Linked DNA regions of Homo sapiens: region 1 is linked to region 2. The links are contacts of gene promoters, found by promoter capture Hi-C in blood cells and fetal thymus (Javierre and others, 2016). All regions are on one chromosome and are shown on one strand. The core of a region is centred on a gene start or on the middle of the fragment in contact, and the rest is flanking DNA. Distances in the headings are between cores, read along the strand shown. Region 1 overlaps ARNT2 (aryl hydrocarbon receptor nuclear translocator 2). Region 2 holds the start of ABHD17C (abhydrolase domain containing 17C, depalmitoylase).

Region 1 (5,792 bases), core at 2,910-5,409, 250 kb after region 2:
AGCTGCAGAGAGAGAAGTGGCTGTATCAGCACCCAGCGAGTGCAAGTGAGCGTGCTGAATACAGGGAAAGCTGGCATAACCACTGAGCTCTGCTGCTGGGCTTTTTAACCCTCTCCCTCATCATAAAAATCTCAGGCCCTCCTTTAGAGACTATACAACACACATAACAGTCTTTTTTCCAACCTAAAATTACAAGGCTGAATATGCTTTTGCATTCTAGCCACACTCCATCCCAGATCCTGATACTTCCCATTGCCTCCACTTATGCCCCCTTTAAGAATCATATTGGACCACCTAAAAACGGGCACACCCTGCAGGCCTTGGGCTGTGAGAAGTGGGTTCTGCTGTAACCAGACAGTTGCATTCCCAAGGAGCTGTGTGTTATCAGAAATTGCTTTAAAAGTACAAATTGATTCAACTTCATGAGAAACCTTGTTTATCAAATAGTGCATCGAAAATAAAATAGATTCAACAGGAGAAAGGGGCTAGGTGATATCTTGAGTCTGAAAATGTCCATCATGTTTTTCCTGCAGGATTTTGGTTGGTTGGATGGTTGGGGGGTAGTTGGTTGGTTGGTTGATTGGTTGGTTGGTTGGTTGGTTGATTGGTTGGTTAGTTGGTTGATTGGTTGGTTGGTTGGATGGTTGGTGGGTAGTTGGTTGGTTGGTTGGTTGGTTAGTTGGTTGGTTGGTTGGTTTTTCAGGTCTGTGTACAGCCACAAACATTATGGATCATGAATAGGTGCAGTTTTGGTTCCATCTGCTCAAGAGTGATGACATTTCTGGCCCTATCAGAACAAGTACACTTGGAACAATAGTACTTAGTATTATTACCACCTTCACCAGCAGAGCAGCAGACAATGCCAACTGTCTGGTCTTCAAGCACTGAGATTTAGCCAATTATTTTGAAAGGAATTCCTGCACACCATCTCTGAAGGAGGAAAGAATGGACAGCACCAGGGTGGAATCTTTGCAGCCCACAGGGGCTGGAGCTCAGCGCAGCAGTGCTGCCAAATCTGGCTTGGAGGCTCAGGCAGGATAACGGGTGAGCCCTCTCCCTTCAGATGGCCTGAGCCAGGCCCAGCAGGATCACAAAGCACATTCTCACCACAAGGACAAGCAAACAGAAGTCCCCAGCTGGGTGCCGAGGCCCAAAACACTTAGAAGCAAATCATGTGCATATTTAGGAATCTTGTAAAAGTTAAACAGGATGCAAACTGCTGAGCTTTTATTCTACAGGAAGGGGAGAAACAATATTTTCCTAACAGGTCAAGAGCATTGCTCAACATTTATTAAGCCAATTCCTGGAAACGCTGAGGTCGCTTACCCGGAACGCCGCTTTCCTCCACGGGCAGGCATGGCCCCCGCCATCCTCACCTGTCCGGTGGCCGCCATGGGGGCAACGGGCAACGTCACAGATCCAGGTATGTCTGAAGCCATTTCTGGAATTCAGCAAAGACAAGAGGTTTTGTCAATGCCAGAAAAGCCCAGTAACGGGCAAGAAAGTTGTGATACGGTACCAGAAGCACCACCTGCGCAGAGAGCCCAGGGACCTGCATCCTGCGGCCGCTCTGCCATCATCAGCTATGTGGCTGGGGCAAGTCTTTCCTCTTTCTCTGGAAAAGGGTATCTCTGGCAGTACTCTCATATTTACTGATTGGAACAGTGGTTAAACAGTTTAACCACAGAATTAAACAGAATTAAAAGAGCTTAGCAGCTTTCATAAGGGACTCCTGTCTCCTGACCACCTGGAGGCAGGTAAGATGCAGAGGAATCCGAGCAGCACAGCTAAGGCCTGAGGGAAAGAACCAACTCCTGGTAACCCAGATGGGGCACACGCCCTGAGAGGCAACGCCCTGCTGCAGTGCCCGCCACTGCCCCTCCGTTGCCCTAGGTTCGTGTTCAAGCAGAAAGGCTGGTTGCCACGCCTACTCTGGACTCAGAAGCCCTGAGTATCTGAGCCCTGCTTGGCCCCTCTGTTATTGACGAAGACAGTGAGCTCTAGGGTGTTAAAAGCATCACTTCAGGCTATAGCAGGCCAGGCTGAGGCTTCCTGGATCTCCAGAGCTGGACCTTTTCAGGAATAAATATTAATTTAAAGAATAAGAAGGTCTATTACTAAATAAGAGTACCTTTCCTGCACATTGTGGCCAAGACATTATTTCTTATAAGCCAGATAATTTTGGAAGCTCGTTAAGGTCATGTTAAGCATCCCTGATTTCAAAGAAACCACACTAAGCAGTCTCTCTTTCCTACTTAACGGAGAGCTCCTAAGCTCAGGCACCCTTTCCCAGACCATTCCATGACTCGACAAATGTTTCAAGTGGCCTCTGTGATTCTGTTTACCGTGGTTGGGAACGACTTCCACAGTGTTAGCTTTTCTTAGCTCAACTTTTACCCAGGGGAAGAAGGGAAGCAGCAATCTACAAAAATATATATAAAAGATGGGTCAGGATACATAAGGAATCTGGGCCCTTCTTAGTGGAGAGAGATGCCTGGTGATGTTGACAGTGCATGGTTGGTGTAGGCTACTGCTCTGTTTCCTTTCAGTAGAACTCAGGGAGTCCTGTGACAGTTGACCCACAGTTACGCCCCAAAACACTGTATGTTTAATAAACACATTTGAAGCTCAACTTGAACTATCCCACTCAAAACTCTTGAAGAAGAATTTTACAATACACAATACAATTTCACAATAAACAAAAGCTTAATTTAGTCATCTTGCTATGTCCACAAAACTTGGGGAATGATTACACTTTTGTTTTGTTTTTTAAACCAAGGTACACATCAAAAAGTCCTCAAAGAAAAAAAAAATCCTCCTCTTAAAGTAATTCTCTCCCCTTTAGACAACTGAGTTTGTGACAGCTAGACAGTATTAAAAGCAATAACCCAACAACTTTATCATCTGCCTGCTTTGATAAAATATTTATATTTTTCTGAAATGGAGGCTAAAACACATTGAGTCCATTATGTCCCCAAACTGAAGGGCAGAATCACTGTTACAGCAAAGACAGATGACAATGAAAGTCACTACTTTCTAAAATAAGTTCCACAGAACAGCAGCCCCTTAAGATTCTCCAAGAAACAGAGTTCCATGGTCAAATAAGTTAAGAAAAAAGCTGTGCACTTACCCCCTTTCTTGGAGATTCCAACATCCACTAAAAACATATTGACAAGTCCTACCTATATAAAGAGGATTGCTTAACTTCGGTTATCCCAGTATATCATAAATATCTCTAATTGTGGAAACTTTAAAAATGGATCACCTGCTCAGCTAATGTTCTAAGCAGCACAAGTTTTGGTTTTTTGTTTTGTTTTGTTTTGTTTTGTTTTTTTTGAGACGGAGTCTCACTCTGTCACCCAGGCTGGAGAGCAGTGGCGTGATCTTGGCTCACTGCAAGCTCCACCTCCCGGGTTCACGCCATTCTCCTGCCTCAGCCTCCCGAGTAGCTGGGACTACAGGCGCCCGCCACCATGCCCGGCTAATTTTTTTTGTATTTTTAGTAGAGATGGGGTTTCACCGTGTTAGCCAGGATGGTCTCCATCTCCTGACCTCATGATCTGCCCACCTCGGCCTCCCAAAGTGCTGGGATTACAGGCGTTAGCCACCGCGCCAGGCCCAAGTTTTGGTATTTTAAAGCCATTACCTCATTCCTGCCTTCGAGTTGAGGAAATTTCAGGCTGGAAGAGATCTTAGCCATTGTTGGTAATCCTAGAAATGTTGTCATCCCTTCCCCGTTCCAATCACCTGAATTTAATTTGGGTAAAACAAAAATGCCGATAGTTTTGGCAATATAAGTTGAAAAAAGTAAAGCTCCCCAAAACCTTGGCTGGTGGGGCAAAGGATGAGGAACACTGAAAACCAAGTCCTTTCTTTCCTCCAACAGATGAAGGGAGCAAGGCAAAGAGAGATTAGATGACCTGCGTGGGTGCCCACAAGTGATCTTTCTTTTTCTTGTCTGATTTCATGTCTAGTTTCTTATTTTCACGTCCTATTTCATTGGCCAGAACTTTCAGAGCAATATTGAGTAAAAATGACCTATCATGAGGTAAAAGAAAGTCACTACCTTGCAGTCAGATATATCTGGTTTCAAATCACAACTCAAACACCTCCCAGCTATGAGTGACGGGGCTACTCTAGGTCAAAGTGTCAGCTGTGAAATGTTCATAATATGTACCTTGAAGGGGCATTTTAAAAATTAAGGACAAGGTATGTGATGAGCCTAACATAGTGCTTGGGAAAAAAAAACACTCAAGCAACAATAATTAAAATGATCATGATTATGCTGATGGTAAGCAATCTTGCTTGAGCCTTGCATTTAACTGGAATGAGCTGCTGGTTTAAGACAGACACTGTTTCTGTTGTCAAGGAATCTGCTCCTATGTCTACTTTAAAAAGTTTATTTAAGGAATGGATGCCTCATTTTATCAAATGCTATTTTTTGTAATTAAGTGTTCTGGATACTAAATAAGCCAAACAGAAAATGCAATCGATGAGACTAACATTGACTTTAAAGATAAAATATTTTCTCTAATATTGATTTTTAGGAGCCACCCTTAATAAATTCAAACAAAAGTGAAAAAACAAGTCTCTCTCCTCTGCAATCTATGTCCGTATCTATAATGTGATCAGCTGTCAGCCTTCCCTGGAAAAGTCTGGCACCCGCTTCCCAAATCTGGCATCTTTTCTCTGTGACTCAAGTCGAAGCAAGCAAAGTTCTTGGGATGTCCATCCAAAGAAGGTGGCTTAGGAAGGTCCCTGTTCAGGTTGGAGGTGACAGTCCCAAAGACAAGGCCTGGTATCAATAGAGCAAAGTTGGCTAAACCTTCAGATGAAGAGCAGCCCTGCAAGCCAGTTGATGATGTGCTCCAGGGTTTCTGAATTTCACTCACCAAGAGAACTGAACACTGCACTGTATAGGGAGGAAATCACACTTTGGATACCTCCAGGGTGGCTGTGCAGCCACCACCATACCCTGCAGCTGTGGGTATTCATGAGTAGAGCCTTTCCAGAGGAGAGCTCAGCAGTCTGTGTCAACAGACATTAGAATATTCATGCACATGTACACCCCTGACACACAGCAAACACACTCCCCACTGTCCTGGACCTAACACAGACATAGCTTCTCCCTTGCTGTGATGGGAGATGAGAGGAAGGGTGTGTGTGTGTGTGTGTGTGTTATATGCACAGAAAAAAGACTAGAAGGCAGATAGAAACACACTAATATGTTAAACTTGGCTATTCCTGTTGTGAGAATTATAGGTGGGTTTTATTTTATCCTAAAAGCTCTTCTTGTTTTTTTGAATATTCTAATTTTCTCCCAATGCATGTGTTAATTTAATGATATGTCAATTGAGTGATCACAAATAGAATAATACTTTTTAAAGGGTTTCATGTGGAAGACACAGGAGAAAGTATATATAACTGGTGAGAACTGGAAGCAATGAATGAATGAGACAGAGACAGAGGAAGGGGAAGCCCTTTTTAAATAGTAAGTGTCCAATAATGGGACGGATTGGCTTAAGAACAATGATAAAATTTTACCTAAACTAAGATTTATGTTGGGTACTGACTGTGTTTCCAGCACTCTGCCATCTTCTTTGCACAAGCTTTACATCCACCCTATAAAGTAAATGGAAATTCATCCCATTTTACAGATTAGGAAACTCGGCAGGGACCGGTCAGCCCTGTACCCTGTAACATGGCTAGTGAAGGGCAGAGCAGGCTCTTACGTGTTTGGCCACCCACTGTGGGGTCCCTGTCCCTTGTGGTGCCCAGGCGGAGGCCAGGTG
Region 2 (6,198 bases), core at 2,703-5,202:
TTAAGACATTTTGCCAACTGTCAGGAATAGAGAAGACATAGTGTCCCTGCCCTCAGAGATCTTCCAATTTAGTGGAGATACAGTTAAATAACAGATACAGCAACACTGTGATAACTCAAGCAAAGGGGCTGAGTACCAGGTGCACAGGGAACACAAAGGGTCTCCTAATCCAATTAAGATCCAGTCAGGATCCATTGTTCCTAGCACAGGAGAAGGGCAGATACAAAAGACGATGTGAGCAGAAGAGTGGGGCAAAGTCCTGAGTGTGGGGCTTTGGGGCCTGCAGGGCACTGCACCTTACAGTCCTCCTGGGGGAATAATCTAAGTACAGAGATGAAGATGACTCAGAACAAGGCAAGCTCTCCAATCAGTGTCCTGGGGAGTGTGGTTAACTAGGAGGGCAGGAAAGATAAAGATTCCCAAAGAAGACATGGGGGATGGCTGGTGGAAAACAGAGTCTGACCCAGTAACAGAAGAATGGACACATGGGATGGAAGGCATTCCTGCCATGGCACTGACATGAATTAAGCTGTAAAAGAAGAGAGAATAGCATAAGAACTTGCTCCAGGCAAGTAAGAGCAGAAGAACCATACTGAACAGCAAGAGGAAAGTGGTTGAGGGGCTGATTGGCTTCAGAATTAGGTAACTCTTATGTCAGCAGAATAACCAAGACACACAAATGCACCTCCTGAAGAATCTGATAAATATGCTTACCGTGGCAATGGTGCCCTCGCAAGAGTACTAAACTGGTAGTCAAGAGACCTACTGCTGATTTGCCGCCAGTCTATCCTCCTGTCAGATGAGCTGGGTGAACGTGTGCAGTGTCCATACATGAGTTGGGAAATAAATTTAGCAATTCACAACCATCTTTTTTTTTCTTTTTTATAAAAGTGAAATAGGCCAGGCGCGGTGGCTCACGCCTGTAATCCCAGCACTTTGGGAGTCCCAGGTGGGCGGATTATGAGGTCAGGAGGTCGAGACCATCCTGGCTAACACGGTGAAACCCCGTCTCTACTAAAAATACAAAAAATTAGCCGGACGCGGTGGCGGGCGCCTGTAGTCCCAGCTACTCGGGAGGCTGAGGTAGGAGAATGGCGTGAACCCGGGAGGTGGAGCTTACAGTGAGCCAAGATGGCGCCACTGCACTCCAGCCTGGGCGACAGAGCAAGACTCCGTCTCAAAAAAAAAAAAAAAAAAAAAGTGAAATAAAACAACATATTCTGCTATGTGTGCTGCCCATAGAAAAATTACTGTTTTGTGAAGCATTGGCTTCAGGTATGTGGATACAGACGTGTATGTGTGCTTGATCAAAACGTAAAATGTGTTTCTTACTGTGAGGTTACAGTCAAAACAGTTTGAAAAGCACAAGACATGAGGATCTATAAGGTTCCTTCAAATTCTAAGCTTCGCATGCAGCCTTCAAATTCTAACCTTTTTTACAGGTGAATAAATTAACTTAGATATGAGTTCTGGTATAACATTAAATAAATCATGGGCAATCTTTAGACATACCATCAGATAATTCAAAGTTATCCGAAACAATTACCCTTAATTCAACTGATACACTATCAGATAATTCAACATTATCCAAAACAACGCCCCTTAATTCAACTAAATATGACCAAAAAAAAAAAAGTTTCCAGGAAATAACTACACTCCACGTAAGCTGTAACACAGACACACCTGTATATTTGGGGCAAAGGGTGAGCCATGTGAAAGGCTTTCATTGTAATGTGGACATGCACACACAGAAGCAATGTTCTATGGAAACTCTTCAATTAAAAAATCTACTCAAGGTAGGATTTTCATGTTTCAAATTTTAAAGATCTAATGCCAACCTTATTTTTAATACCTTTGCCAACAGCAAATTCTAGCAAGCTATAGACTGTGTGTGACACATACTTTTGAAACCCTTTACTGGAACAGGTGGCTTTTAACTACTTACAGACTCTGACCCAATGCATCTGCATATGATACATTCTCATCTGCCTAAGCCACTTTCGAAAAGCTATAATCCCAATGAGGGCATCCCCTTCAGGACTTCAGGAGGGCATAAACATGCAACATAGAGCAAATATTAAGTACTTCCCTGTTGGACAAGCCATTTTCCCAGACAGGCAAGGAGTCACTTAGGAACATATGCGTGAGTACGAATGAAAAAAAAAAATCATTAACGTTGGTGATGTGCATAAGCAAACAGGTTTTAGATAAAAACTATAGAAGGGTCCATGGCGACAATAATGCCCGGTGTACTTCCTCTGGGGACTCTTTCATCTGAAGAAATCAAATCTCATCATAGACATGGCCTCAGGTTATTTTCACCATCACTGCTATGAGGCAGGTCGGAAAGGTCACAGATACCCAAACTGGAGCACAAACAGGTAACCTGACCTGCACATGTATAAGACTTTTGTCTAATAGTGAATAAAAGTCAGGTTTTTGGTTTGCTTGTTATAAAACAACCAGGTCTAACCCCTAAACCATGCCCCCAGTTTGTGCCTGGCTCACAGATGGCCCACCCTAAACACTTTTCAGTCCTTCTGTGAATGCTAATTTAAGGTCAGAGATTTCCCAGCCCCTGCAAGTTTCAAACTTATCCTGGACTGTTATGGAGGCCGTGTGGAAGGTGCCAGGCCCACAGCTACCAGCTAACTTCCTGCCCCACAGTGCCACTACTTTGCCCCACCAGGAGGCAAACTCCCCGCTCCACCTGACGCTCCAGCTGTTTCCAAGGTTGCCCAGACATTGTCCTGCCCGCACTTTACAACCAGAAAGTCTTTTAGAGGCCATCCTGTCTCGCCCACTGACTTTACAGGGAAGGAAACTGAGTCTAGAAACCCATGTGCCTTGCCCAAGGTCACTTCAGCTCGTACAAACGAAACTCGAACCAAGTTGTTTCTTTCTGCCCGGTACTTAAGCACCCACACTCTGCCACTCGCGGTGACCGGAGCCACAAAAGACCCAGCCGGTGGGCCGGCGACACACAGGCGAGCCAAAGCAGGCAAAATTCTCTGAGTCCGAGCTCTCCAGGAACCTGAAGGCTGGCGCGGTTTTTGGAGAGGGTGGGAGCAAGCCAGGGTGGGACAAGAAAAGCGAATTTACGGCGGCCAAGGGGCTCTCCGCTGGCCCTCAGCCCCGGAGGAGGGGCCCCTCTCCTGGCAGGCCGCCCCAGGGGCCCCAAGAGACCCCCACCCCGCCTCCCCACAGCTGGAAGTCAGGCCTGGCGACCCCGGCAGGCTCACCGGGTGCGCAGCGCCTGCCACGCGGCGTCGATGTCGGCGTAGAGGTTCTTCTCGGAGGGCTTGCCCGAGCTGACGCCGTATCCCGAGTAGTCGTAGGAGAAGATGTTGCAGTTGATGCGGGAGCCGAGGCCAATGTAGAAGCTGCACATCTGGCCCAGGTCCACGGCGTTGCCGTGCGAGAAGAGCAGCGTGTAGCGGCTGGAGGGCGCGCAGCGCACGAACATGCAGCCGAGCCGGTTGTCCCGGGCCGTGCGCGAGAAGAAGACCTCGACGGCGTCCAGCTCGCGCTGCGAGTACTGCCAGTCGGCGCGCTCGCTGAGGTGCAGGCTGCACGCACCGGGCCCCGCGCCCGCGCCCTCCTCGGGCTGCTGCGGTGCCGGCTGGGCCGCGGCGGCGGCGGCGGTAGCCTGGGCCGGGGCCGGGGCGGACGCGCCGGCGCCGCGCTGCTCCGGCGCCAGCACCGTGTAGGTGGGCTCGGGCGGCAGGAAGGCCAGCTTGGCGGCGATGCGGCTCGGGCAGGGCGGGCAGCAGAAGAGCCAGCACAGCTCACCCAGCGAGAAGCCGTTCATCCTGGGGCCTGGCTCGGGCATCGGGACGGCCTGGTGCCCGCCGCCGGCCCGGCTGGCTGGCTGGCTGGCTGGCCCGGGAGGACGGAGGACGGACGCGCGGCGAGGGAGCTGGCAGGCGAGCGCGGAGGGCGGCTGCAGCCCGCCCGCCCGGCGGCAGGAGGAGGCGGAGGCGGAGGAGGGCAGGAGGCGGGGCCGGCCCGGCGGGCGCGGCGCTCGGAGCCCGGGCGGGTCAGCGGCGGCCCCGGAACCCAGGCGAGGCGCGGGCGGCCCGGGCCCGCGCGCGGCACACAAAGCCGGCGGCGGCGTCCATGGCCGGCTCGTGCGCGCCGCCCCCCGCTCCCGTTCCCGCTCCCGCACGCCCGCCGCCGCCGCCGCCGCCGCCGCCACTTCCGGGTTACCGCGCGGCGGCGCCGCCGCTGGGACGCGGCGCAGAGCCGGGCATCGGGGCGGGGCGCTGCGGGCAAGGGCGCGGGCACCTTCCCCGGCCTGGGAAGCACCTTCTCGACCTGCGGCCGACGGGGGCTTCCAGGCGGCTCCGGGGCCCGGAGAAGCTGGGTGCCGGGGCTGGGGGCTCTGCGCCCGGACAGCTGGGCCGATCTGCAGAGGGGACCCTGGAGGGGGTGCATGTGTCCCGGGGTGGACCGCTCCCCTCCCCTCCCCCTGGGATTCCCTCCCCCAAATCCAGGTTTCTCCCGTGGATGGAGGTTCTTGGGAGTCTACTGAAAAGGAAACTAAGGGGTGGACAAGAGTTGGAATGTGCCCGAAATATTTGGCTCTCGTGTGTGCTGCTTTCTGAACTGGCTCAGTACCAAAAGTTCTCAGCACCGTAAGGGGTACCGGGGTTGTGGGATAGGGTGGTCATCAGTGTGTTTCTTATTAGGAGAGGCTGTTTCTGTATAGGTAGCAACAGCGTTTCCTTTCTAAGGGCATGGTTTTACCCTTAGTACATTTCTGTATCTATAAAAGTCAGCTGTTAGAACAGGAGGGTACTGTATTTAGCAACAAACCATGTTGAGGTTGTCATTTCTAATCCCACGTGTGGCAGATTTTCCGGTAGTAAGTATATACTAGGTATCGTTTACAGTGTTTGTGTCTCTAGAGTTGTTTTGGGTCCAGGATTTTTCAGTGGTCTTAGTCATGAACGATTCTTATACTGCTTTAAATCTACTGTAATCTTGGCAGCCACCTTTACATGATTTTTCAAATATAACTCTCGGTGCCTTGAAACTGTGCTCTGGTGCCAGTTTCCACAGAGCCTTCTATACTTCCTTTTTCCCGCCTGATTTGGCAGCTGAAGAATTCCCTTTCAGGAACTGACAGGAGATACCCTTCCTGGACTGCCAGCAGGGCAGCTAGAGACTGGGAGGTTGGCACAATCCCTACGCTGGGTCTGTTGTTTTAACTCACAGATGTCCTGAGAATTTTACCTTTCGTTGTGACTTTCCACAGGACGAATATTTTGAGCACCGTCATCTAAATGAATTGCCGATACTGATTTCATTAACCTTCAGGACCTCGCTTTTAATTTTTTCTTTTTTAAGAGACAGGGTCTTACTGTATTGTCCAGGCTGGACTCCCAACTCCTGGGCTCAAATGACCCTCCGGCCTGCCTCCCAAGTAGCTAGGACTACCGGCACATGCCACCTTGCCCAGCTAGGACCTGGGTTTTAAAAGGCCATTTCTTCACTAAAACAATTTTACTTGTTTTTGAACTATTCAAACTTGATTTTTAAAAACCTGGTAACAAAGCCTGTCCAGATTGCATATTTGAAGTCTGTTTTGAAGGTTTTCACACTTGGTGAAACTCTTCACATAAAGCCCAATTCTAGCTTTGCAGGTTTGCATTTCCTTTTTTTTTTTTTTTTTTTTAAAAAAAGAATTTTTCTGCGAAAATCCTTTAAAAAGAAAAAAAAGCTTTATACAGCTGGGCACAGTGACTCACGCCTGTAATCCCACCACTTTGGGAGGCTGAGGAGGGTGGATCACTTCAAGTCAGAAGTTCAAGACCAGCCTGGCCAACATAATGAAACTCCGTCTCTACTGAAAATACAAAAATTAGCCGGCCATGGTGGCGTGCACCTACAATCCCGGCTACTCAGGAGGCTGAGGCACGAGAATCACTTGAAGCTAGGAGGCAGAGGTTACGGTGAGCCGAGATCATGCCACTGCACTCCAGCCTGGGTGACAGAGTGAGACTATGTCTCAAAAAAATAAAAAGGCTTTCTAACTTGCTACACATTGGTATACTTTGGTCACTTTATTGTATTCAGCATTTATGTATGTAATGTTTTTTGTGCTCACAGCATCCACTGTGTTAGGTGCTACAGCTACCAAGGTGAGTAAGATAGTCCCTGCTCTCAGATACCTTACAGTCTAATTAGGGCATC

What was found. Contacts are between HindIII fragments. The CHiCAGO score rates a contact against its expected background, and 5 or more counts as called.
Region 1: a fragment that was not itself captured here is called in contact with the fragment with the promoter of ABHD17C in region 2 in 1 of 17 cell types (M0 macrophages); the score reaches 5.4 in M0 macrophages.

Annotation. Positions count from the first base shown.
Region 1 is chr15:80,446,529-80,452,320 of GRCh38, reverse strand. ARNT2 (aryl hydrocarbon receptor nuclear translocator 2) reads right to left here. Exons shown (of 19, transcript NM_014862.4): 2 at 1,327-1,441. Among named protein-coding and RNA genes, the nearest start is that of ARNT2, 45 kb to the right of the region's middle. The HindIII fragment of the contact is 2,904 bases long and covers 2,708-5,611 here.
Region 2 is chr15:80,693,064-80,699,261 of GRCh38, reverse strand. It overlaps ABHD17C (abhydrolase domain containing 17C, depalmitoylase), which reads right to left and starts at 3,952. Exons shown (of 3, transcript NM_021214.2): 1 at 3,243-3,952. The coding sequence starts at 3,832. RefSeq lists silencers at 3,129-3,188, 3,609-3,658, 3,749-4,168, 4,189-4,298, 4,319-4,478 and 1 more and an enhancer at 3,349-3,418. The HindIII fragment of the contact is 4,321 bases long and covers 1,407-5,727 here.